Linked DNA regions of Homo sapiens: all the other regions are linked to region 1. The links are contacts of gene promoters, found by promoter capture Hi-C in blood cells and fetal thymus (Javierre and others, 2016). All regions are on one chromosome and are shown on one strand. Each heading gives the region's core, a stretch centred on a gene start or on the middle of the fragment in contact. The rest is flanking DNA. Distances are from core to core; before and after follow the strand shown.

The links. The method cuts DNA at HindIII sites, captures the fragments that hold promoters and counts their contacts. A CHiCAGO score of 5 or more calls a contact.
Region 2: a contact is called between a fragment that was not itself captured here and the fragment with the promoter of BDH2 in region 1, in 7 of 17 cell types (M2 macrophages, non-activated CD4 T cells, naive CD8 T cells and 4 more). The highest score is 11.1, in M2 macrophages.
Region 3: a contact is called between a fragment that was not itself captured here and the fragment with the promoter of BDH2 in region 1, in 4 of 17 cell types (naive CD8 T cells, M2 macrophages, total CD4 T cells and 1 more). The highest score is 6.0, in naive CD8 T cells.
Region 4: a fragment that was not itself captured here is called in contact with the fragment with the promoter of BDH2 in region 1 in 1 of 17 cell types (total CD4 T cells); the score reaches 5.8 in total CD4 T cells.
Region 5: a contact is called between a fragment that was not itself captured here and the fragment with the promoter of BDH2 in region 1, in 4 of 17 cell types (total CD4 T cells, activated CD4 T cells, total CD8 T cells and 1 more). The highest score is 6.3, in total CD4 T cells.
Region 6: a fragment that was not itself captured here is called in contact with the fragment with the promoter of BDH2 in region 1 in 1 of 17 cell types (fetal thymus); the score reaches 5.3 in fetal thymus.
Region 7: a fragment that was not itself captured here is called in contact with the fragment with the promoter of BDH2 in region 1 in 4 of 17 cell types (fetal thymus, naive CD8 T cells, total CD4 T cells and 1 more); the score reaches 8.1 in fetal thymus.

What each region holds. Positions count from the first base shown.
Region 1 is chr4:103,098,052-103,101,738 of GRCh38, forward strand. It overlaps BDH2 (3-hydroxybutyrate dehydrogenase 2), which reads right to left and starts at 1,783. Exons shown (of 10, transcript NM_020139.4): 1 at 1,732-1,783. The HindIII fragment of the contact is 3,413 bases long and covers 900-3,687 here.
Region 2 is chr4:102,254,974-102,258,660 of GRCh38, forward strand. It overlaps a transcript of SLC39A8 not described here. Among named protein-coding and RNA genes, the nearest start is that of SLC39A8, 89 kb to the right of the region's middle. The HindIII fragment of the contact is 1,386 bases long and covers 1,094-2,479 here.
Region 3 is chr4:102,277,130-102,280,816 of GRCh38, forward strand. All of the region lies in intron 6 of SLC39A8 (solute carrier family 39 member 8), which reads right to left. Among named protein-coding and RNA genes, the nearest start is that of SLC39A8, 67 kb to the right of the region's middle. The HindIII fragment of the contact is 3,854 bases long and covers 1-3,502 here.
Region 4 is chr4:102,297,357-102,301,043 of GRCh38, forward strand. All of the region lies in intron 6 of SLC39A8 (solute carrier family 39 member 8), which reads right to left. Among named protein-coding and RNA genes, the nearest start is that of SLC39A8, 46 kb to the right of the region's middle. The HindIII fragment of the contact is 6,511 bases long and covers 1-3,687 here.
Region 5 is chr4:102,313,718-102,317,404 of GRCh38, forward strand. SLC39A8 (solute carrier family 39 member 8) reads right to left here. Exons shown (of 9, transcript NM_001135146.2): 3 at 1,951-2,113. Among named protein-coding and RNA genes, the nearest start is that of SLC39A8, 30 kb to the right of the region's middle. The HindIII fragment of the contact is 188 bases long and covers 1,586-1,773 here.
Region 6 is chr4:102,332,872-102,336,558 of GRCh38, forward strand. The region is part of intron 2 of SLC39A8 (solute carrier family 39 member 8); the gene reads right to left. Among named protein-coding and RNA genes, the nearest start is that of SLC39A8, 11 kb to the right of the region's middle. The HindIII fragment of the contact is 3,813 bases long and covers 1-3,488 here.
Region 7 is chr4:102,360,636-102,364,322 of GRCh38, forward strand. No RefSeq gene overlaps it. Among named protein-coding and RNA genes, the nearest start is that of SLC39A8, 17 kb to the left of the region's middle. The HindIII fragment of the contact is 1,240 bases long and covers 1,080-2,319 here.

The DNA.
Region 1 (3,687 bases), core at 533-3,032:
CACTGAAGGATTTATGGAAAGGGTGTGAAATGATCAGATTCGTATTTTGGAAGGACTGCTGTGGAGAACATACCTGGGCAGGAGCATGGGGTGCCATTAGGAGGCTGCTAGGGTTATCTAGTGGGGGCGCTGGTGAAATAGCAGGGCTGGAGAAAATAGCAGGGATGGAGAGATAGGTGGATTGGAGAAGTGTTTCAGAGATGAGATAGGTAGGACCTGATCACCAACGTGGCTAATTTCAAAGAAATGTTATTTGCCCAGTGTTTTGCAGCTATGAATTCAAACCTAGGCCTTCTTGTTGCAGGTCCAAGGGAAGATCTCATGGCATTGTCTCATGGTACTCAAAGCCCTGCGGGCCTCTCTAAATCCCCACTGTGGCACCAGGAGCCTGTGCCTCGCAGACCGCTGACCCCAGGAAGTAATGGACAATGAGGCGCAGCTGCTGCTGCCTCTCTGGGTTTGTGCTGAGGCCACCTTCTCGGGGCCGTTACAAGCCAGTGCCTGAGCATGCATGCTTACTAAGGCAGACTCATTTCTGGGAGACATAGACCTCCTCCCCAACGGATGACTGGCTAGAGAAGCTCCTTATTACCTTGCTGAAGTTCTCTTAGACTGCACAGCTGTCTGGGATGCTTCCACTCAACCTGGTTTCCTTCTTTTCCTCCCTCGCGGGTGGACTTGCATCGAGGTCTGATGGCTCTCACAGCCTTACCTAGTTCTCTCCTCATTCTCTCTCACAACAGCATTTCCCCTAATAAAATCCATGCATATTTAATTCTATCTTGGAGTCTGCTTCTTGGAGGAGCAGACTAACACAATTATGTAAGAACTGGCTCCAGGGATCAGCTTATAATCACTGACTTCCTCTGAGTTTGTCCACATTTTTTAGGCGATGGGGAAGCTTGGCTTTAACAGTGCCTGACCTACTTTGATGCAATGAATTTTTGCTTTTTTACTTCTTACACAAAAGATAAACATGGAATGTTTATCATTTCAACATGGAATGACAGTTTCTAAAGTATAACTTTAGAAAGATATACTTTATCCTCCTTGAATCCTAAGCATGGTGCACAAAAGCTATTTTACAACACTGTCATTAGTGATATTGGGTGTATGGCCCTGTAAAGCCTCCAGTCAAAGGTTTTGCTAGGAATCTTTGCCAACCGAAGAAGCACTTCCAGAACAAATGCCGAAGCACAGAGCAGCCTTTCTATGCACTCTGAAAACCTCCTCTTAGCTGGCCTTCCTGTCTTTCTGGGACCAGATTTTGGGGTCAAAGCCTTAACATTTGATAAACTGTAATCTCAAACTAAAACAGATTTCTTTGAGAAAATGAGAGCAAACACGGCCTGAAATGGTAAAACAAGGCACCTCTCAATATATCCAATGTGAAAACCATACATGTTGGCTTCCTTAGTCCAAAAGTTAGAATCAAAATGTTGATTTTTGATTAGCAGAGACACAAACAGCATATTCAGGAAGCCATTGTTTTCAAGAGCCAGGAAGAAAACTCTTCACTTAGGATACCGTAAGAATCCTTTTTTCTTGGGCTACTTTATAAAACATACATACCACAGAGTTTCAGGCTCTTTAAAAACCCATCTTTACACTGATCTAACTGCTCAGATTAATTTTGAAACAGGCAACGTGCAGAAAAAAACAACATCTAAAAATTAAACCTCCCCTCTTTCCGTTCTAAAGTTTCATTTCAAAAGTATTAGGAAATCTTACTTTAAGCAGCGAGCTGATGGCGTTCTCCAGAACTCGGTTTGAGCAACAAACTTGAGACAACCTTTGTCTGGAAGCAAGTCAAGCGCTTAATAATGCATGCTGGGATTTGTAGTTTCCCTGCTTTCAGAGTTTAGTGGCTCCATCCATACACTTTATAAATGTATGTGCTGCCATCTAGTGGAATTCAGGTAGAACTATGAATTCCAAGTGGAAGGTGAAAAGTGGAAAAGCACCTTAGAGCTTACTTAGGATGCGGAAATCATTTCCTTCACTTCAGTCTCTCCACTTCTCTGTTTTGTTTATGCCTACTATATGCGGTGCCAGGGTAGACGAGATTGGCTGAGCTGGAAACTGCGTGTGGAAGATAGCAGAGCAACAAAATAGAGGGAACCCAGGTCACTGAAAATTCTGGAGCCTTCCTGTCACTTGGCCTGGATTGTTTTAAGGGAGAGAAATAAAAAAAAAAATCCTTTTTGTTTGAGATACAGTTGTGATTTTTATTTTTTCATGCTCAGAATATTCTAACACTAATGCACATTTAGTGGCAGAATGCCAGGAGCCTTTTACTACACTGGGAATGGGGTTGGGGAGAACGTGAAACTTGGATGACAGGGTGGAGGCTTAAAAGGGAACATGTTAACAGCGAAAAACCCCAGTTTGGCTGAAGAGAACAGAGATATAAGGTCAAAAAGAAAGGACTAGATCTCATGAGCCCTCTAGGTTAGGATAGCAACATGTGCTTTATCTGTAGTGCCAGTGAGCAGAGTGATTGTGTAGGCTACTTGTACATGTACTGTATAAATTGGTTTCCTCAGCACCCATCCAACTCACTTTCCCCTTTTTTCACTTGTCAAAGCTGGAAAACAAAAGTCTCTACTTCATAGCCTTGTTTGCTGCTAGGGGTGGCCAAGCAGCATAGATGTTGCCAATGAAATGCAGGTGGGAATTTCTGAGGAGGGCCTCCTTCTTAAATAGAAAAGTAAGCCCTTCTGAAAGGCTTTTAGCTTTTGCTCCTCCCTTTCTTTTTGCCTGGAATGAAGATAGGATGCCGTGGGACAGAGCAGCCATTTAGTGAGTTCATCTGAGGCCAGAGGCACACATTAACGACAGGGACCAGCAAGAGAAGGAGCCTGCGGCCCTGATGACAGCCTCAAGGCAACAACTCCTCTGGACTTCTTATGTGAGGACAATAAACTTTAGTGTTTTTCACGTTTTTTGTTACATGGAGCTAAGTGATTTCTAACAGTCACAGGGGATAAGAACAAAGACTGTGGCGTCAGTAAGACTAGAGCAAGTCCCATATCTCTCTCTCACTAGCTAAGTGAGTAAATCACTTAAATCTCTGAACCTCTTATGTTTCTCATCTGTAAAATGAAGGTAAAATAGCACCTACCTCAGGGATGTGGTGAGGAGGAACGACTAAGCCTGTGAATCCATCAGCACAATGTTTGCCACACAGGTGCTTAATACATGTTAGTGATTCTTATGATGAAGACATTGTTGGAGAAATTTAATTATAATGGATGGTAAAAGTTGCGCTTTTTAATGTTCTTTTAAAAACTGGACTTAGTTTCTGCATGTGTCTATATGAGGTCTATGGTAAAATTGTCCCTCCTTGTTCATTGTTTCAGCAACTTCTAATGCTGGCTCTAACAATCTGTAATCACATCTAGCTTTGTTCCTGCTTTACTAATAATGCCCTTTGACTTTTGAGGCTTTTGGAACAGACTTTATGAGAGTTCTCTAATCAAAGCCAACTCCAATGCTTCTTGATGTAGCTTTCTTCAGCATCCCTCTGTAATCTTCAGCAACAATGCTTACTTGATAACAGCCTAAGTCACATGGTATTGCAAATACTTGCTTACCCATTAGTATTCTCAGCAGACTAAATTTCTTCAAGGGTGGGGACTATGTTTTACACCTTTACATTGTGATTAGCTCGTATTAAAAGAGTAT
Region 2 (3,687 bases), core at 537-3,036, 840 kb before region 1:
GCTAAGTGAAAAAAAGTAAAATATGTACAATGTTTCTATGTATTCCAAAGTGAAATAAAAATAAATAGAAATTATCCATGAGTTTTGAAAGATTTTTGCTCACCACTACTGGAACATAATAGAGATTTTACTATACTCTGCCTAGGAAGTTGACTCCTGACATTGATAGTGAAGTTCCAGAAAGTGCTGAGGAACTTTGCTAAATTCAAGAGCTGGGAATTTTGTTTGAAATAAATATCTCAATATTTAACTGCTGTATTAATTAGAAAAATTGTATTGCAAGAAACAGAAACCCAAATCAAATTAGTTAAAGCCAAAAAGGACATACTGAGATACTAGAATAACTTGGGTAACTTACAAAATTGAAGGAACTAAAGAAAAATAACTGAAAAGTACTAAGGATGTCAGGAACTAGAACCAAAGACAACACAACTCTCTCCAATCAGTCCCCATAGCTTCTACTGTTTTCTCAGCATCCATCTCATTTTCCCGGGTTTCTCCTTGTGCCAGGAACATGACCACCAGAAGCTCTGGGGTCAAATACAAGAGGCAAGAGTTTTGGCTCTCCACATCCTTAGAAGTTTCTGTGTAAAGATTACAATTGACCCAGACTGGGTGACTTGCCCAGCTTGTGGCAAATGGGTGAGGTTAAGTGCATTGGTTGACAATCTCCAGTAGGGGTTGGGAGAAACCAGTTTCTAAAAGGAAGAGTGAAGCTTTTACATGGACAAGGGCAGAAGTCAAGGTATGCAGAAACAATCAACAGAAGTGCATTACTCCAAACATATCCAGCAATGATTTTAATACCACTTTCACCAGTTTTGTCACCACAAAGTGACAGGACAACCCAGCTCCTAACTTATACAATGTCATCTTTATGACTATTCTAAAATGCTTTGAACTTTTTCATCTTAAAACACCAAAGGATCGCTATGACAGCGCAGGTGCTTTTTCTCACGTGCATCCTTCTACGAAATGCTTAGACATGAATTCTGAGGCTTACTTTTCACAAATTAAAAGATTTTTTCATGGAAACACAAAAGATACAAAAAGTAGAAAGATCCATATGAAGCACCTTCCTCCACAGTTTCTAAGCTTCTAAAATCAATGTTTCCCAGTTCATTAACAAGCTCGTACATAATTATTAGAGTAACACCATTAAGGTTAGCACATACAATGACTCCCAAAGAAAAAACATTGTCTATTTATAAGCATTGCTGTGAATGGGTGGAACGTCTCAGCAATACAGTCACAAGCAGCAGTCCCGGTGTTCTCACTCAGATATTCCACGTAGCACTTCATAGTATGCTTTAAGTGAGGGAATGTGACCTATAGATACATCTACACGAGAAGGATTCCCATAAGGCATAAACTGTTCAATAAACAATCATAAAAATATATTCATTCTTCCCTATCTAGAAATCTATGTCTTTATTTAAAAATACGTGATGATTCATGCTTAAGGACGTGTTGTTGGACAGTTGGTTACAGTCTTTTATCTAGTCAAAAGATTCTTATCTGCCAGAAATGTGATAAGTCCACTTATAACTAGTCTCTCAAAACATCCTAGATATTTTTCTCTGTATGCATAGTTAATCATACAAATTAATCTAACCTAATGCCATCTTGTTACCCTAAAATGTTTAATGATAATGGCTTATCATCTTTCATCCCCATAAATTTTCTCCTTGCTTTCAGTGAGCAGCAACTTCACTCCCATATACGCACTTGTTGTGTATTCCTTCTCCTGCCAAATTCACACAGTCACCTCCTCTTCCAGGATAAGACGTTTACTGCTGATAATCACAGCCACAGGGGAAACAAAGAACTGCCATGCTCAAATGAGGGTAAGGTGAGGCAGGTCCATTAATTTACAAAGGGACTGATTACAAACATGCAAGTGGGGTGCAGGGAAACCACAGGTGATGCTACATGAACGCAGGGCTGAAGACAGTAGAGCTGTTACTACCCCTAGGCCAAAGGGACAGAGAGATAGTGGGCACCAAAACCAAAGGAGGGGAATCTACAGGCAGGTGCTGGCCCAGCAACAGTTTTTTAGATGAACTAGGTACGGAAATTGAGAATAAGCATTTATAAACTTCAACAGTAATCCCAAAGAATAATTGTGTCTAATAAAAAATGAGGTTTATCTAATAATAAAAATGGGGTTGGATTTTCTATGTCTTTTTTTTTTTTTCCAAGATGGAGTCTTGCTCTGTTACCCATGCTAGAGTGCAGTGGCATTATCTCGGCTCACTGCAACCTCTGCCTCCCGGGTTCAATTCTCCTGCCTCAGCCTCCTGAATAACTGGGATTACAGGTGTCCGCCACCACCCCCAGCTAATTTATTTATTTATTTTTAATTGTATTTCATTTTTCTAGTAATTTCTTTGAATTCTATCTATTTACAGAAGTGCCAGCTATTGATAAATTGGAAATAAGGAAAACAAGCTGGGCCTTAGCCACAGATATTGTAAGAAGCTTTTCTGTAGAGAAGGCCTTCTTGGGCAAAACAGGCAGCCCAAGGATACCCAGTAGGAGGATAGTCAAGGAAATTGATACTCTATCCTTCCTCTCTTCACTTCCTCCAGTCTCTTGTCGAAGTTCTCCATTTGGCTATACCCACTGAGGTCCATGTGGGTCAGTCTCTGGAGGCAAAAAGCAGGATACAGAAGGGTGGAGAGTGGATCCCCATCCTGTACAGTTGAAAAGTCTATGTCCCCAACATTGCAAATGCACGAAGTCCCATCACCACAGAGTGATGTCATTTAGTCACGGAGTAATGTCTCCCTGTGCCACTTACCAACTTACTAACACTGAACTCCAAATTCACTCTAAATACATGCTCTGTCATAATGAACAGAATTCCTTTAGCACCCATCCTTTACAGTGAGCATGATATTGAGCTGTCTCAGTAGAGGGCGCTGGAGGGATACTGCAACAGGAAAGGGCTCTCCTGCTGTTTGCAGCTGCTGCAAGAGGTCAGCAGTGTGGGTGGGAGGGCTTTTGTCATGCTCTTCCCTGGCTGCATCCCTGAGCATGGGGTTCCTTTGCAACTTCTCAGCTGCAGCCTGGCCTAGCATTAAAAATAGAACCCATTACACAGGTTTGTTGTAAGTAAGTGTTTTTTGTTTTTTGTTTTTTTTTTTGAGACGGAGTCTTGCTTTGTCACCCAGGCTGGAGTGCAGTGGCGCGATCTCGGCTCACTGCAAGCTCCGCCTCCCTGATTAACACCATTCTCCTGCCTCAGCCTCCCGAGTAGCTGGGACTACAGGTGTGTGTAAGTACTAATTTTTAAAGGGCAGATATAATCAGTATATTAACATGCAGTTCTCACAGGGGTAACTAAAAACAACTTTTAATTTTATTCCTCACTGTCTGCTTGGGAGTGAAGGACTGGCTAGCCCTTCTCCTACCCCTGGATGAAACTTGGGGTGGCACAATGGCTGTTCTCACACAGGACTTTGGAGGGAATATAAAATCCTACAATTACTTCAAGACACAAACATAGTCTCAAGTCAGTTATTGAAAATGTCCAATCCAATGCATCAATCAGTAATTCAATTTGTATTCAAAGGTAAGACTTCTGGGAAGGAATCCTTCTCTTTTATTTCCTTACTCCCCACTGTTCACTAATTGGCTTTTGGCCCTTCCAGGGTTAAGTGCTCAGATGAAGGAAAGAAAAGG
Region 3 (3,687 bases), core at 326-2,825, 820 kb before region 1:
TCTGGCCAGGGCAATCAGGCAAGAGAAAGAAATAAGGGGTATTCAAATAGGAAAAGAGGTAGTCAAATTATCTCTGTTTGCAGATGACATGATTATATATTTAGAAAACCCCATCATCTCAGCCCCAAAACTCCTTAAGCTGCTAAGCAACTTCAGCAAAGTCTCAAGATATAAAATCAATGTGCTAAAATCACAAGCATTCCTATACACCAATAACAGACAAACAGAAAGCCAAATCATGAGCAAACTTTCATTCACAATTGCTACCAAGAGAATAAAATACCTAGGAATACAACTTACAAGGGATGTGAAGGACCTCTTCAAGGAGAACTACAAACCACTGCTCAACAAAATAAGAGAGGACGCAAACAAATGAAAAACATTCCATGCTCATGGATAAAAAGAATCAATATCATGAAAATGGCCATACAGTCCAAATTTATAGATTCAATGCTATTTCCAACAAGCTACCATTGACTTTCTTCAAAGAATTAGAAAAAAACTACTTTAAATTTCTTATAGAACCAAAAAAGAGCCTGTATAGCCAAGACAAGCCTAAGCAAAAAGAACAAAGTTGGAGGCATCACGCTACCTGACTTCAAACTATCCTACAAGGCTACAGTAACCAAGACAGCATAGTACTGGTACCAAAACAGATATATAGACCAATAGAATAGAACAGAGGCCTCAGAAATAACACCACACATCTACAGCCATCTGATCTTCAACAAACCTGACAAAAACAAGCAATGGGGAAAGAATTCCCTATTTAATAAATGGTTTTGGGAAAACTGGCTAGCCATATGCAGAAAACTGAAACTGGACCCCTTCCTTACACTTTATACAAAAATTAACTCAAGATGGATTGAAGATTTAAATGTAAGACCTAAAACCCTAGAAACCCTAGAAGGAAACCTAGGCAATACCATTCAAGACATAGGTATGGGCAAAGACTTCATGACTAAAACACAAAAAGCAATGGCAACAAAAGCCAAAATTGACAAATGGGATCTAATTAAACTAAAGAGCTTCTGCACAGCAAAAGAAACTATCATCAGAGTGAACAGGCAACCTACAGAATGGGAGAAAATTTTTGCAATCTTATCCATCTGACAAAGGGCTAATATCCAGAATCTACAAGGAACTTAAACAAATTTAGAAGAAAAAAACAAACAGCCCCATCAAAAAGTGGGTGAAGAATATGAACAGACACTTTTCAAAAGAAGACATTTATGTGGCCAACAAACATATGAAAAAAGGCTCATCATCCACTGATCATTAGCGAAATGCAAATCAAAACCACAATAAGATACCATCTCATGCCAGTTAGAATGTCGATCACTAAAATGTCAGGAAACAACAGATGCTGGCAAGGCTGTGGAGAAATAGGAACACTTTTACACTGTTGGTGGGAGTATAAATTAGTTCAACCATTGTGGAAGACAGTGTAGCAATTCCTCAAGGATCTAGAACCAGAAATGCCATTTGACCCAGCAATCCTATTACTGGGTATATACCCAAAGGATTATAAATCATTCTACTATAAAGACACATGCACATGTATGTTTACTGCTGCACTATTTACAATAGCAAAGACTTGGAACCAACCCAAATGCCCATCAATGATAGAATGGATAAAGAAAATGTGGCATGTATACACCACGGAATACTATGCAGACATAAAAAAGGATGAGTTCATGTCCTTTGCAGGGACATGGATCAAGCTGGAAACCATCATTCTCATTCTCAGCAAATTAACACAGGAACAGAAAACCAAACACCGCATGTTCTCACTCATAAGTGAGAGTTGAACAATGAGAACTTACGGGCACAGGGAGGGAAACATCACACACTGGGGCCTGTTAGTGGGGTGGGGGGCAAGGGGAGGGATAGCATTAGGAGAAATAACTAATGTAGATGACGGGTTGATGGATGCAGCAAATCACCATGGCACATGTATACCTATATAACAAACCTACACGTTCTGCACATGTATCCCAAAACTTTAAGTATAATAATAAAAAAAAAAAGAATTCTTGCCTCCTGTCCCCGAAACCTTGGACTTGATGAGTTTGATGGCCCTACTGTCCAAGGCAGTAATTCTTATACCAGGAAACATGGTCATTTTCTGATTCACTGGAAGTAGAGACTAACTCCTGGCAATTTAAATTTATTTATGGCCCTGAACCAACAGAGATGAGAAAGTCACTATAACTAGCTAGGGTAATCACACCTAATGATCAGGGGGAATTGATTTTCTGCTACAGAATGAAGACAAGGACAGTGCTTAAAACTCAGGGAATTCAGTGGGATGCCTCTTAGTACTCCCTTCCCGATAGTCCTGGTCAAGGGAAAATAGCAACGATCCCCCAATAAAAACAAGACTACCAAGCACTCAGATCTTAAAGAAATGAAGATTTCAATTGCCCTAACTGGAAAATGACTCATCCAGTCAAGGTGATGTCAGACAGTAAGGTAAATACAGAAGGTATTGTCGATGGGGGGGCCCTATAATGAGCAGTTTAGGCCTCATGACCAGCTCCAGAAGTGAGCTGCAGCTATAATTAATGTTCCTTAATTGCATCCTCTTCTCCCAATATTTTATATGAAGAGTGTTGCTGGGGACCAATATTTTAGTCAGGTTGCAGTATTAGTAAAAGACATCATGGGAATGATATGGTAGTTGATGGGATTTTGTGCATACCCTGTGTTAGGAACATGCATTTGTCAACCACATGGAGGACAAGATTGGAGGTTGATAGAGAGAAAAGTGGTAGAGTATTCAAGGTATCTTTCATTTCTCCCTCCAGATCCGCTTTCCGCTCTTCTTTCCCCATAAGACCTGCAGGCACTCTATCAAAGGCCCTCATGTCCAGGTGCTCAGCAGGTTCCAGACAGTGAGCTCTAACAAAATTGGAGGGAAGGAGGAGTGGGGATCGGGATATTTATTCCCTTGGCTCCCTCCTTGAAGGTTAACTTAGGCTGGCTATGTCCACAACTAAAGATCACTGTTCCACGTACAGTAGCTTTCTACACAAAACTAGCTCCTTTCAAGTTCTAGAGAACCTTTTTTCTTCCCTTTTCCCTTTGGTCATAGGTTGTTGACAGCTCCACTGTTACTAGCCTCAGGTTACTGCCCTGTGGTTCACCTACACTGTGCTCAGAGTTTTACAAAGTGTCTCTCCCCTATTTATTATTTATCCTTATTTGAGTAGGCCATCTCTCTCTGGAAAGGATTTGACATATCCAAAGTCTAATGCTCATTCCACAACACAATACTATGAACTATATATACTGTTAAATAAGTTTTCATGAAAAAAGTAACAAAAGGATTACATAGACATGAATATATTAAAAAGAGTTAAACGCATTCTGTAAACATAAAGTTTTGATAGGCTTTGCTTTCATTACTAGGTTTTCCAGTGATAAATGTTTGTATTTTATAGCTGGTGATTACTTGGTCCTTCTCCTTACCTGAAAAGTCAGCTAACTACCAAAATGAAGCTTCACATGAGAAAAGAGAAATTATTTATCCTTTAATGCATGTAACCAAATATAATTCAAATGCACTTACCTTCCAGTCATTCAGTTTCAGGTAAAGCTCAAAACTATTTCCAAAACTCTCTTTGCTAATTAAAATAACCATTAACAAGAAAATAACAATTTCTAGAAACCTCGCAAGTTGTT
Region 4 (3,687 bases), core at 532-3,031, 800 kb before region 1:
TGCAAGATGGAAATAATAATCGTACTTGCCTCACAGGGTTGTTACTGTGAAGATTAAACGAGTTAATATATGTAAAGCATTTAAGAATATGTCTAACATATATAGTCTTATTTCAGAATTAGCCAATCTTTAGAAAAGTTGGACAGTTGTGGGAAAGAAGGTTTGAGAAAACTTGGGAGTAGCAGATTGAGGAAAAAAATAACACCTTGAGGTAGAAAAGATGGAACTTGTTTGTAGACACGGGAAAAGGAGAGATTCAGGAAAGATAAATGAAAACAGGCCAGATGTGGTGGCTCACACCTGTAATCCCAATACTTTGGGAGGCTAAGGCAGTAAGATCACTTGAGACCTGGAGTTCAAGATCAGCCTGGGCAACATAGCAAGACCCCATTTCTACACAAAAAAAATTTAGTTAGCCAGGCATGGTGGCATGTGCCTGCAGTCTCAGCTACTTGGGAGGCTGAGGTGGGAGGATCCCTTGAGGCTAAGGAGTTTGAGATTTCAGTGAGCTCTGATTAAGCCCTGCACTCCAGCCTGGGTTATGGAGTGAGACCCTGTCCTAAAACAACAAAACAAAACAAAACTGGAAGAGGCCACAGGAAAGATGAGAATATTTAGAGGAACTGGCCTTAAAAAGGAGAAAGGACACCAGTTCTGGCACAAAGGGGACAGTGGAGAGAAGATGAGGACCCAGAGTAGTTTTTTTAAGAAGTAACAGAAGTAATGAGGTGAGACAGCAGAGTTCACACATTCCAAATCATCATCTCAGTCTCCTTGTTAAAGTAAGAAAATAAGAAATAAGAATTTTGTGGAGTAATAAAAAAAAAACTTTAGAACAGTTTTTCATGAATAAAAGTATACTTCATATCAGTGAAAGTAGGCTAAATTCAGTGGATTCAGGTACCAATTTTCATGACCTTAGCAACACATAGAGTAAAGCCAGATAAAATGACCTGTCCAGGGCAGGGATGCTCTGAGATAGACCCAGTGAGAGAGAAATTCCACTAACAGCAAAGACAACCCAGAATTTCTCCTCATGATTGGCTATATCATCTGCCTCTAGTTACTGTTTTTATGTAAGTACCAGTCAATCAAGATCAGTGGAAATCATTTCTTATGTCATTTTATTATTTGTATAGTTTTCTATTTTAATTAATTGTTATTATAGGGGAAATTAACTAATTTCTGTTTTTAAATCTTGTGATGTTCAAGAACTATATGATTTAAAATAGTAAATGGTCTTTTAGTGAAATAGTGCAGACCAGATATACATATTTATCTCTAGTCCATCCTGAAATGCCCTCTTGAAGCTATGTCCTTATAAAGGAATAAAGACATAAAACTGCAAGGACAGGAGGAAAGAGAGACAACATGACAGCATTGAGATTTGTATTTTGGAAGATGGAAAGAGGAAGGCAAGTTCTGACTGACTTCACAAAGAAAGTCAACAAGAAGCAAAGTGATGCAGGACCCAGAACCTCAAAAAAGTTCAGGGATTAGAGGCACCAAGTACTTCTGAAGGCAGAGGGCAAAGACCGGAACTAAACATAAGAGAAGTGGCTGCAAGTCTATTTAGGGAACAAGTAGAACCTCAAGTCCTTCCTCCCAAGCCAATGTGGCAAGGCAGCCACCCCAAATGATGACTGGAGATCTACCCCTGGGGAAAGTGAACTAGAGAGACCCTCAATTCAAAGACACAAAGCAAACTGAAGACAGTTGGGAAGTACAGTACTAAAGAAAGGGGTGTTATGTCAAATATTCTTAGTGCCCCAGTCCCCTTCTCCTCCCACTCCACTTCCCAAGTGATAGCCAGTAATATTCTACCCTTCTTCCCACCGCCAGGCAAGAATGGAGAAAAACACACCACCCAAAAGACTGGTAGACAAGCCCCATGCATATATGTACACACAGAACTTCCAGTCAGTTTTTTTTGTATTTCATACTTAAAAAAAAAAAAAGAGTGCTTTCCATTTTTCTGTGCAAAATGTGTAATATTTCAGTTATGTTATGGAAGGGTGGAAAGTTTGGAATCTGTGAACTCTGCTGTCTCACCTCATCTGTTACTTCTTGAAAACTGCTCTGGGTCCTCATCTCCTCTCCACTGTGCCCTATGTGCCAGCACTTAGAATAATGCCAAGTATATGTTAAGTACTGGAAAAATACTTGTTGAATGAATTATGTGTATTTAAACTCTCATGGAGGCCCAACCACCTCAAAAATGTTAGCATTCTATTCATAGAGTGTCACTTCATATCAGTCATCAACAAAGAAAATCTCCCTAACATCTCCACACTTTGCAGCTAAATTCTATTTTATTGCACCTCAACTTTACACATAAAATTCACAATAATCAACTTCTAAAAATCACTTTATATTTAATAGTATCTATTCTTAAATGAAAGCACAGGAAATTTCATAAAAAGAGAGACTGATGACAGATTGCTGGAGGAACGAGCTCCAGGGTCCCTCTAGTGGCCTTGAAGAGCTGACACCCTCCCCAAAGTACCAAACATTCCTCAGCAATCAACATCCAACAAACACCAAGGCTGTGTCTGGGCTGGGGAGCCCCACCCGGCTGCAGAGATAGTGAAATGACTCCACACTTGGCTACACAGGAACGTCGAAGAGAAAAACACAAAGCATGTCACAAGGTGACATGTGACACATTACCTAGTAACAATAACTGAATAACTGGGGAAATAGCATCTTGTGCACCCCTCTTTTTCCTACATCTTCCTTTTTACCCCTCTGTGACCCCCACTTTTCCCCAAAAAGCATGCACGTGCCCACACGCATGCCACATAGACTGTTGTGCCTCACACTTAGTAGGCCTGGAGCAAAGGTATTAAGGAACTCTCAAATCATTTCGTCTAAATATTTAAAAGTTATAATCAAGCTAACTGTTAAATGTTAATATCTTCTATTATTTCACTGTGATAAATATGCTTCCATGAAAACAAAATAAAAACATATGTGTAAAACTATGATTTTTATATGACTAAACACAGATAAAACACCAGAGACTTCTAAATTTAAATATTATTGCTTAGCTGAGTATTCTGTAATGAGCCAGAATTGCTTGGATGAATAATAAAGACATTCCTAAGTCATACAGTTTAAGTATTCTATAACATGTCTTTGTTCTTTCTACATTTCAGCAAGATCAAAAATTATGCTTTTATAATCTAGATTTTCACATAATTTACATTCTATTGACAGTAATGCCAATTAGACCACCTTTCTTAACTCACTGTAATTTTTAGAGAGTTCCTTATTATTTTCAATTTGGAAAAACTTTGTTGAAGCAGTGACAGCCGGGATTGTCAACAAAATTCTTAAATCCATACTTGTAACTCAAATTGAACCCTGAGTTATATTATCATGTTCAATCCTTTTAATGGGGTCACCTAGGTTAGATTATTTTTATAATATAAAATATTAGAAAGTATTTTAATTTTATTATTAAAATCACTATCACTTATATTGTAATACTTACTCTCTTAAAGCAATATCCAGACCTACTTATTTCTTAAATTTCATTTCTTTTGATTTTTTGTGCAATGTAAACAAAACTGAAAATTGCAGTCTGTTGCTCAATTTGTTTAAATGTCTATTTATTTGAGACTATACCTTCAACCAAAATAGCGAGAAAATAGTCCCCATAAGAAATTAACGTCAAAACTATTA
Region 5 (3,687 bases), core at 430-2,929, 780 kb before region 1:
TAGCTAGGCCTACAGGTGCATGCCACCATGTCAGCTAATTCTTTTAACTTTTGTTGTGATGGGGTCTCACTATGTTTCCCAGGCTGGTGTTGAACTCCTGGCCTCAAGCAATCCTCTGCCTTGGCCTCCCAAAGTGCTGGGATTACAGGGATGAGTCACCGTGCCTAGCCCCAGTGTCTTTAAATATCATCTCTAGACTGGCAAATCCCCAGTCTTGACCTCTCCTCTGAAAGCAATCTCCTCTCCAAATGTCTGTGTGCCTTTGCCTACTGGACCTCCCTGTCTACCTGTGTATGTCAATGTCTCAAAGCAACCACGCCAAAAATTATATTCTTTATCCTCACCACTCCCTTCCTCTACAATAAAGGGCTCTTCCCAGTCTTCTCCATCCCGGGAAATGGTATAACGATCTCTCCGGTTTCTCTGGCTCAAGACTTGACTCATTGTTCCCTCTCCCACAATCAATCCAGGGCAAACCATTTAGCATGATCTCCAGGACTCATCCCGAATCTACTGCTTCTCCCCACTTCTACTTCCCCCACTTTAGTCCAAGTCCCCATCATCCTGGCATCAGCTCCTGGCAATCGCTTCCTGACCAATCACCCTGCTTCTACTCTTGCCCCATTACAATCTGTTCTTCAGATTGTAGGCAGGTGGAATGCCCTTTTAACAGATTTGAATGAGATCACAGCATTCCCCTGTTTAGAATGGTACAGTGACTTCACACTACATTCAGAATAAAACCCAATCAATTTACCACCTCCCGCAAGGCTTCCTCACCTGGTCTCCATCTCCCGCCAGGACATATATCCTTCTACCTTCCCCACCAACTCACTAGGCTCCAGACACATAGGAGCCTCTTGCTGCTCCTCACTCATGCCAAGCTCATTGCCAAGCTATGTTGGCTGTGCCCTCAATCAAGAATGCTCTTCACTAGAGACGACCTTGCTGTGGCCCTCTCCTTCTGCTCAGATGATACCTCATCAGAGAGGGCTTCCTTGATCTATCTAAGATGACACTCACCCACTATCACCTTCTATCCCTCACCTACTAATATTTTATTTTCTTCATAGCACCTTTCACTCTGAAACTATGTTGTTTATTTGCTTGTTTAAATTTGCTTGTTTAAATCTTCTCCACTACACTGTAAGCCCTAAAAAGACAGATAATTATTCTTCTTGTTTACCATTGACTCCTTAGTGCACAGAACAATACTTGGTATGTCGTTCAATAAATATTTGCTTAATGAACAAATGAACGAAACTTTAAAATTCCAACATAATTTTCAAACAGACTCCCTGAACAATTGGTTTATCTCATTGGTGAAAGTGACCCTTCTACACATTTAAGCATGTGAGCTGTATATTAAGCATACATATATTTTATTATGGTTTAAAATTTCTTTGCATCAGATCATACCGTTAAAGTACATATTCATGGAAATACCATTATAGTCACTTAAAATAGTCTCTGGTATTTTCTTTCACCTATGAAAATTAAAACTAATAATTTGGTCCCTGAAAATTTAATCTAGAAGCATGCTAGTTCTCTTATCTCTTCATTGGTAACTGCAGATAAACTGACAAGCTTTAAAATAATATGGTAAGCAAAAGATAATGGAAATGAAATGATCAATTATAAGCCAAAGAAAATGCAATCCAATATGCACAGCATAAAATATATATTGTTTAAAATCAAGAACTGGATTTTATAAAGTTTTTAAGTGTACTAAATGTAATTTTGATTCAACAAAGAGAAGAGCATAACTTATGAAGCTTAAATGAGTTATAATTCTTCTTATTCCAAATACTTTCAAAATATAAGTATTATTCGAAGAAGTTCTATGTAGATTAATTAAAAGCAATAAAGCAGAAAAAGAGGCATATTAACTTCATTTCACAATGGTTCATAGACTTTTCAAATAAAAGAGAAAAAATGCTTCTAATATACCTTCTGAATGACTTGGTCTTGTTTTGTGCTTGGGCCGATCCTCACATGGGTGAAAGTTCAATTGCTGTAAGACTGCTGGACAGATGACAGAGAATTTGGAGCTGGTTATTTGGGTAGCATTTGAAAAGCCATGAAGGGAAAAGATCTCTTCAGCAGTTAAACACTGAAATAGAATAAACAAAAAAAAAATGTGATAATAATGTGTAAAAGCACATAAGCAAAGATGCTATAAAGAGACACAGACTATTTCATCTAGATGCACAGCACTCTTTATACAAAAGCCCACCACAGAAATTGAAAGGCCCCTAAAGTTGTAAAACAGCCCACACCAGTTTAAACCTAGAAACAAGAAAAATAGAAAAAAAAAAATCCCTTCTTAATCAACAGCTTTCCTACAGCAGAAAATAAATAAGAATTGGTTTGGGCATATCTAAGGACTTTATTTAAAATAGGGGTGCACCAACACCATTCAAACAAAGGGTTTTAAAACAATTTTTTATTGTCAGTACCCCCTCTTAGTTTACTTTTCTTCAGTTTGAATGGATATTTTGTGTGTGTCACTGGCATGGCTCTCTATAGCATTTCTTGTAGACAAATACCTGGCTCCCTACAGTTTCATGCTAAGAAATTCCTCTCTTCTCTACACTGCAATAAATATAAATATAAAAAGTTGTTTTAAAATATGTCTTTTGCACAAACTGTTTTTCATTAAAATATGCATTATTCTCAATGACGTTGGGTAACTTTTCTATATTAAGTTTTGAAAATAGTGCTGGGCTGTTTAGAAATTCATTAACTATTAACAAGGACTAGAATCTACATTAGGAAAAAAACTGCAAAAATAATTTTTTAAAGGTATAATGTTGTTCTCACATTTTAACTGTAAGCTCTTCCATATACAGTACTTGCATTATTAAGAAAAATATAAAATAAATGCTACTGAATGTCATAAGAATTATAGTGTGAAAAATATCCATTCACTCAAATGGAAGAGTCTGTCTTTAATAAACGTAATTTAGGCAAGTTATTTGCATGCTTCAGCCAATGCTTAAACCCCAATAAGACCTTAGCTATGTACTATGATCTGAATTATGTCTCCCCAGATTCACATGTTGAAGCCCTAATCCCCAGTGTGATGGTATTTGGAGATGGGGCCTTTGAGAGGTAATTAAGTTTAGATGAGTTCATGAAGTTGGGGCCCTGGTCCAGTGGGATTAGTGCACTTATAAAAAGAGACATCAAAGAGCCTGCTCACTTGCTCTTTCTCTGCTATATGAGGAAGCGAGAAAATGCTCTCTGTGACCCAAGGAGAGAGCCCTCACAGACAGCAACCATTCTGGCACCTTGGTCTGGACTTCAAGTCTCCAACTATGAGAAAATAAATTTCTGTTGCTTAAGCCACCTAGGCTTTGGTATTTTGTTATGGCAGCCTGAGCTGACTAATACACTATGAATGGTATCAATAACTCAAAGTTGATGTTAATTGTTTGACCATAAGATGCTGTAATTCCCTTTACTACAGAAACAATGAAATTTAAAATGTCATATTTTGTTACAAGGAGATCACTACTGTTTATAAAGGAAAAATGAAAAAACATCAAATAATCAAATACACCAAGATCTATGCAGTTGTCCAACGCTAAGATTACAACTACCTTACAGAAAATGCACATTTAGATTTTTTTAATGTCTAAGTATGTACCTAAAATTGTTCCTTATTCAACCCACTGTTTTGAG
Region 6 (3,687 bases), core at 332-2,831, 770 kb before region 1:
TGGATGAAGCTGGAAACCATCATCCTCAGCAAACTAACACAGCAACAGAAAACCAAACACCGCATGTTCTCACTCATAAGTGGGAATTGAACAATGAGAACACATGGACACAGGGAGGGGAACATCACACACTGGGGTCTGTCAGGGGCTGCGGGGCTAGGGGAGGTATAGCATTAGGAGAAATACCTAATGTAGATAATGGCTGATGGGTGCAGTAAACCACCATGTCACGCGTATACCTAAGTAACAAACCTGCATGTTCTGCACATGTATCCCAGAACTTGAAGTCTAATAAAATAATAAAATGTGTATATATATACATATATATGTATTCAAGACTGGAAGAAATGTAGAGGAAAGAGATATGTGAGGCAAGACTGGATGCAGAGGGCGGCAGCAGTAACAGAGTGTATGTGTATTGAATACTTACAGCATGCCAGGCAAAAGACAGAGTGGCTAGACATATTATCTGATTTCATCTCTACTACAATCCCATAAGGTAGGTACAATTTTCCCCATTACACAAAGAGGATGTTGGAGCTTCAAGAGATTAACTAAGAGATATTTATAAGTTATTATGACAAGACTTATGTGCATTTGATATGGGAAGGGGAAAGAAAAAGTGAGGAGTCAATATTAACATCCAGTTTCACAGCTTAGTTCAGTGAGCAGATAGTAATACCTATCACTAAGATGGGCAAAACAGGAATACCAAAAGGTTTTGATGGAGAAAGAGATGGAGTTGATGAGTTTTGTTTGAGACAGGTTTAGACCTGTTGAGTTGGGGAAAAGAAAAGAGTTAGACATCAATTGTCAGCTGGGTGCGCAAGGCTGAATCTCAAGAGAGAAATCTGAAGTAAGCCAACTCATGTAGAAAGCATCTACAGATAGATAATCACAGCCATATGAGTCCTTGAAGATATACAGAAAGAGTGTGTGACATCAAAATAAAACAGGCTCGAGATGGAAACCTGAGGAGCACTAATATTTAAAGAATGAGCAAAGGAAATCAAAATTGAAAAGCAGCAGCCAGAGAAGTAAGAAAAACATGGCACAAACAGCTGCAAGCAAGGAAAGAATGTGTTTCAGGTAGGATGTAATCAACACCAACAAAATTATCAGAGCGGTGAGGCCTGAGAAGCACCCACTGAACCTAACAATAAGGTGGTTCCATGTGACTTGGTATAAATTTCAGGGAAGTGGTGGGGACAGAAAAAAGCCAGAACCAATGGTTTGAATAGTGACTGAGAGGTGAGAAAACAGAACAGGCATTCGCACCTTTCTATGGTCCAGTTATACACAGTAAATGAAACACAAAGATCATGGAATATTCAGGTTAGTCAGAGCACCGTGGCCTTGCTAATACAGCATCTGATTAAAGTTAGCCCAAGGAAAAAGAACTGAGGATTCAAAATTGGAATGTCTGGTCTCCCAGAAAAATCTGGGGACTTTGTCTAACTTTTACCAAATGACTTATTCGTATCTCAGTTTCTGGGGGAACTGATATGTCCCAATTTTCTCACAATATTGTTTCGAGTATCAAATGTTAATTGTCAGGAAATAACTTTGCAAGGTTAAAAACTAGTTTGTAGAGGAAGTAATAATGAGTTTTAGGGCCGGCCCTGATTATTGCAAGTACAACTTTAACAAGGGGAAGAAAAGACATTTTTTCCCTCTTTTCACTCAAACAAGAGGGGAACATCAGCAGAGAACATATGCCAGCTTCAAATAAATGATTGTACAGTTCCCAGTGGCTTCAAGAAAATGGCATTAGTTCTACCTTGACATTCAGGCACTTGGATGACACAAGAGGCACTTGGCTTTTTGGAAAATAAGTCCTTCTGTGGGATGATACTCTTCAGCATGAGAGGCAATAGTGGAAAGTGCATCGGTTATAGAATCCAGTCACCCTGGAATGGAATATGTGCTCTGCCAATATGAGTCATCTGATTTAAAGTGAGTTACTTAACCTACCTAAGGTTGAGTTTCCTCAAGGGAATAACAAGAGTGTTTACTCCATGGGATCAGGAGGTTTAACAGAATGGTGTATAAAGAAGAACTGAGCAGGATGCCTGGAACACAAGAAGTGCTCCGTAATTGTTAGTAAATATTCTTACTAGGACAGGACCTGTTTCCTCTGCCACAGTAAAGGCCCTACCCACAACATTTACTTAAACAGCGTTCATCCCAAGACTAGAGACAGAGCCAGTGTCTAGCTGTTCATGCTAATGTGTAGGTGAAGTAACCGAATAATATACTTACGTTCTGGGGAACTCTGCTCCTGAAGAAAACTGTAGAGCATTATGATTTAACATTCAAACTCTATTACCTGGTACCATCATAGCATGCATCTCTTAACATAAGGGACTGCATGTTTTATAGAACATATGATGAATATTTATATAAAGCAGGAACTTTTGCCAAGCTCAGAATCGGTGTACTGATTTTACTGTTCGCTGAAGTTCGGGCTAACTTTCTGTTTCCCTGTCGCTGAAGAGATACATCTCTCACTTCTTCCAGTTAGACTAAAATAATGCTCATTCTCTTATCTGTTTTCTATCCAACAGGGTTCAGCTAAATGCAGAGGGTCCTGGATTCTTCGGCTTGCAAAACCCATATAGAGGTCCATACAGATTTAGAAGTAGATCTCAATTTAAAACCGCAATTCTATCCATTTCTGGAAGTATTATATGGTTCCCCAAACATTCACATTTCAGTGGTGATGCCAATCTGGGGCAAAAATAATAAAATAAAGCCAACTTCTAAATGTAGCATCAGAAGTCCTCTGGAAGGGAGGTAATAATTTCAATGCACATTGAAGTACTCAAATTATTTTATTAGTCTCTACTCCTAAGGTTTACATTTTCAAGAATTTACTACCAGTGTTTGGAGAAAGGGAAGTGGAGGTAAACTGTAAAAGCCTCTCTGAAGGTGAGTCACCATGGAAACCAAGACTGAAATCAAAGGCACTGGACTGACTTATTTCTCACTGATCTTTTTTTTCATTAATTCTTGCTGTCTTTTCATGGCTGTGCTTTCTTCTTTTAGTTGACAGACGCTTGGGTGTTCAGATCATCAATGGAAGACAATTTTGTTAAGGATAATGTAGCTATATCGAGTAACATACTATTATGATGATAATAACTATGCATTGAGCACATAATTTGAGCCAGGCCCAATGCTAAGTATTTTACATACATTGTCTTTTGTATTACGTATTATTGGAAGCAATATAGGTAATGGAAAAAAGTCTTATATCTTTATTGAGTTGGCACGTATAACATACTGAATATATAAGTGCCCGAAATATGTTAAATGCTCAATAAATGTTAATATTGTTCTTATTTTCTAGTCCAAAAAACTGTCCTATGAGTAAGGCTCTTTTTTTCTCAATTTACGGATGTGAAAACTAAGGATTACAAAAAGAGGGTAAGTCACTTGGCTGTGATTTCCCAGGTGGTAAACAAGAGAATTAGAATTTCAGCGCAAGCTTGCCTGACTCCAGAAGCCAGATTGTAAACCATTATGCTGTATTCTCTAAGATAGTTAGAGGTCTAAGAAGCTCACCAAATAAATTGGTTACAATTATGGTTTATTTTTTAATTAGGTTCAAAGAACTAAAGACTTAGAGGCATTATCAATGCTCACTTGATTTTTTTCTCTAGCTATTCAATTAGTTATTTAAAG
Region 7 (3,687 bases), core at 450-2,949, 740 kb before region 1:
ACCTTCTTTTCAAACACCAACCCATAAGCTCAACAATCTCACAGTATCTTCCTCTACTGGGCCTCTCAGGAGCACTGGGCATTGGCTGACTACTCCATCCGTCTTCAAGCAGTCCTGCCCTTGACTTCCAGGAAGCCACACTTTCCCAGTTTTCCTTCCATTTTTCGTATTGTTTTGTTAGTGTTAAATGCTAGTCATTTTAAATGTTGGTATCCCTTCAAACCTTGTTCTTTCCCTCATTCTACACATGCTTCTTGAACACCTTATCTATTCCCTTTGTGTCGATTGCTACCTGTTATGGGCTTAGTTGTGTCCCATCCCCCACAAAAAAAAATTGCTATGCTGAATTCCTAACCCCCAGTACCTCAGAATGTGACTCTATTTGGAGATAAGGCCTTTAAAGAGGTAATTAAGGTAAAATGAAGTCACATGGGTGGGCCCTAATACAGTATGATTGGCATTCTTATAAAAAGGTGAAATTCAGACACAGACACAGAGGAAAGACTATGTAAAGACAGAGGGAGAAGATGGCCATCCACAAGCCAGGGAGAGACCTGAGAAGAAATCAATCCTGTCAGCAGCCTCCAGAACTGGAAGGCAATATGTTTCTGTTTTTTAAGCCATCCAGCCTGTGGTATTTTGTTAGGGCAGCCCTGGAAAACTAATACACTCCCTCTGATTAGACTGTGGCTCCTAAACTCATTACTGTGGTGCCAGCTCTGAATGCCAGACTGTATCCCTCTACCTACTGGATGTCACCACATGGATGTCTCAAAAATATTTCAAGAATTCAATGTATGTTGGCTCATCCAGTTACCTGTGCCAGAAACATGGTCACTGTATTAGACCCTACTTGTACCCCACATCATATCCTCTTAGCCCACCTCTAATTGTAGTTTCACTTCAAGTCATTCTCTCATATTTTTTACCTCAGGTTTTCTTTAGAATTCTAATAACCTGCTCAGCAGCTTTCAAGCATAGAGGAGTTAACATCCCTGGAGGCAACCCTAAACCAAAGAGAAATGAGAGTCAGAGAAGAAAGGCTCAGTCTTCAGTCTTTCAAAGGGTCACTTCTGAAAAGCTTTCAACATGGTTTCTCAGGGAATTCCTACAATATGTGCCCCAGGGTTTTACAGCAATAAATAGTTCAATAATGCACCCTTTACTGGCTTTCTTCCTTCCCTGAATTAGATTTTCTCCTTCCCTAACACACTCTCCTCATTCTGTCACTCTTATTTCTTGGGATCATCTCTAAAATAAACTTCCTGCATCCCAGTTATTGACACAGACTTGCTTTTAGGGAGAAACCACACTAAGAGAGTCAATATCATTCCCTTATCTTTCTCCTTTATATACCCTCTCTGGCCATCAATTATCAAGCCATAGTAATTCTACTATGGTTTTCAAATTGATCTACTCTCTTTAAGTCCACTGCCTTTATCTTAAGATAGGCTATCATCAACTCTTAACTGGATAATTTGCTGTCTTCTGTCTCCCTGCCTTGCAAATTGTCCCTTACCAAGTTATTTTCCATGGGGAAGTCAATGTGTGCTTTCTAAATGGACTATCTAATCCTACTCACTCACAGTAACCTTCAATTATTTCCCATTGTCTTTAATATGAGTTCCTTAATATGATTTTTGAGGTTTGTCCTAATAAAGACCTAGTTTTCCTCCACAGTCACATCTCTCACCATTCCTACTTCTTACTTCATACACTAATCACACTGAGCTACTCTCAGGTCTCTGACCAGCCATGTGGTCTGTCACCTCAGGACCTTTGCACATGCTGCCTCTTTCTCTTGAGATGCACTTCTTCATTCCTCATCTCCACTTCCAGCTTCTTACTACTTCTAGTTTAGACCGCATTTACTCTTGAAAATCTTCTCATGTTAATTTTTGGTTAAGTGCCCCTCCTATGTGTTCTTAAAACATTACACTGTATTTTAATTACCTGTCTAGATTTGTTTATGTCATCTATTCAATTAGAGTATTTGAAGTTTTCTATTTCTCATTGTGTCTAAAATGCTCCACATATTTTAGGTATTCAATAAATACTGATAGAATAAATGAATTAATGAGTAAAATAAAAATGTTAAATAATGTTAAATTTTTTAACAACAAAAAAACTGGCAAACAAATTTTCAAATCATATAAAAAGAGCTGAAGGAAAACAGAAGCAAGGTGGATAAATAGAAACCCTATAAAAATCTAGGACAAAAACCCTATCTTCAGAAATCTTTGCTATCATCATTGCCATAACCATGGATACACGCCTACTCGGATTTTTTTAAATGCATTACTTAGAAAGCAATTTTAAAGCTTATACTATAAAGCAGGCATTTTTAAATGGAAAAATTAAGTCAATCCCATATGTTAGTCTGGAATGGCATTTTATGGAGATGGCTTTAATTTATGAACTCGCCCAATAGAACTGCAAGGTGTTGAACAGAGCTAGCCTTCACTAAGACTTAAAAGTACATAACATCTGTTCCAGGCCTTTGACTCCATAATCTCTCACCCTGACAACACCCTTTCTCCTCTTCCTGCTTATGCTGCAGGTCCTTGCTCTGAAATCTGAAGACTCCTGAGTCTGCCCACTGCCACACACCTTGGTGAATGTAAGAGTCTCACCAGGATTTCCTGGTGAATTTCTCTTCCCAGCTATCACCCATGTAAACAGTATGTTATTACTGACACTCCCTATACTTCCACTTTGTTGGATGCAAACAAATACAGCATTTGAGCGGACCTGTGGGGATTTCAGGTCAGCTGAAGTGAAGAGGTTGGTTTCCCAGGAAATCTACAGGAAATACATGGAGGGCAAGGCACAGCCTTGATGAACCTTACAAACTGCTCTCAGTGAGTGGTTCTCATCAAGGAAGCCTCAAGATGGTGAAGAATGCATGTTCTAGCTGGGACCCTGTCAGCAGCGCATTGCTACCACCAAGTTAAAGTTATTTCCAGCACAAACCAGTGTTGTTTTGCTCAAGAGAATGCTTAATCCCTACCAGCCTCTTAGCAACCGTGTGCCATTATTCTCAAGAGAAGGGGCAGGGCAGGAACAATATTACCCCATCACTGAAAAACCCTCAAGTTGCAGAACATGCTAATGATGAGCTGGTAAAAACATTGCCATCACTAACTATATGAGAAAGCCACTATAGAAATCAGTTCCTTAAAAACACTGTAAGACTGCATGATTATTTTGATTCTCAATTTAACAGGCAATAACTTTTACTACAAGTAAACTTTGGTTTGATTCCAAAGAATAGCTAACGAGATCATGCAAATTTCAAAAATACAATTCCTTCACTTATTCAACAGATATTTTTGGGGTGCCTAGTAGACACTCTTCTGTGTACTGAAGAATCATCGATGAACAAAACAGGTTGCCGGGTGGTGGGGAGGAGAAGGGGAGGGGATGGTTAATAGGTACAAAAAAATAATTAAAATTAATGAATAAGTCCTAGTATCTGACAGCACAACAGGGTGACTATCGTCAATAATAATTTAATTGTACATTTAAAAATAACTAGAAGAATATAATTAGATTGCAACACAAAGGATAAATGCTTGAGGGAGTGAATACCCCATCTTCCATGATGTGCATATAATATTAAGTGGGGAGAAAAACACAAGAATACAAAACTATAGAATATAATACTTGAGCTTATAAGAACAATTA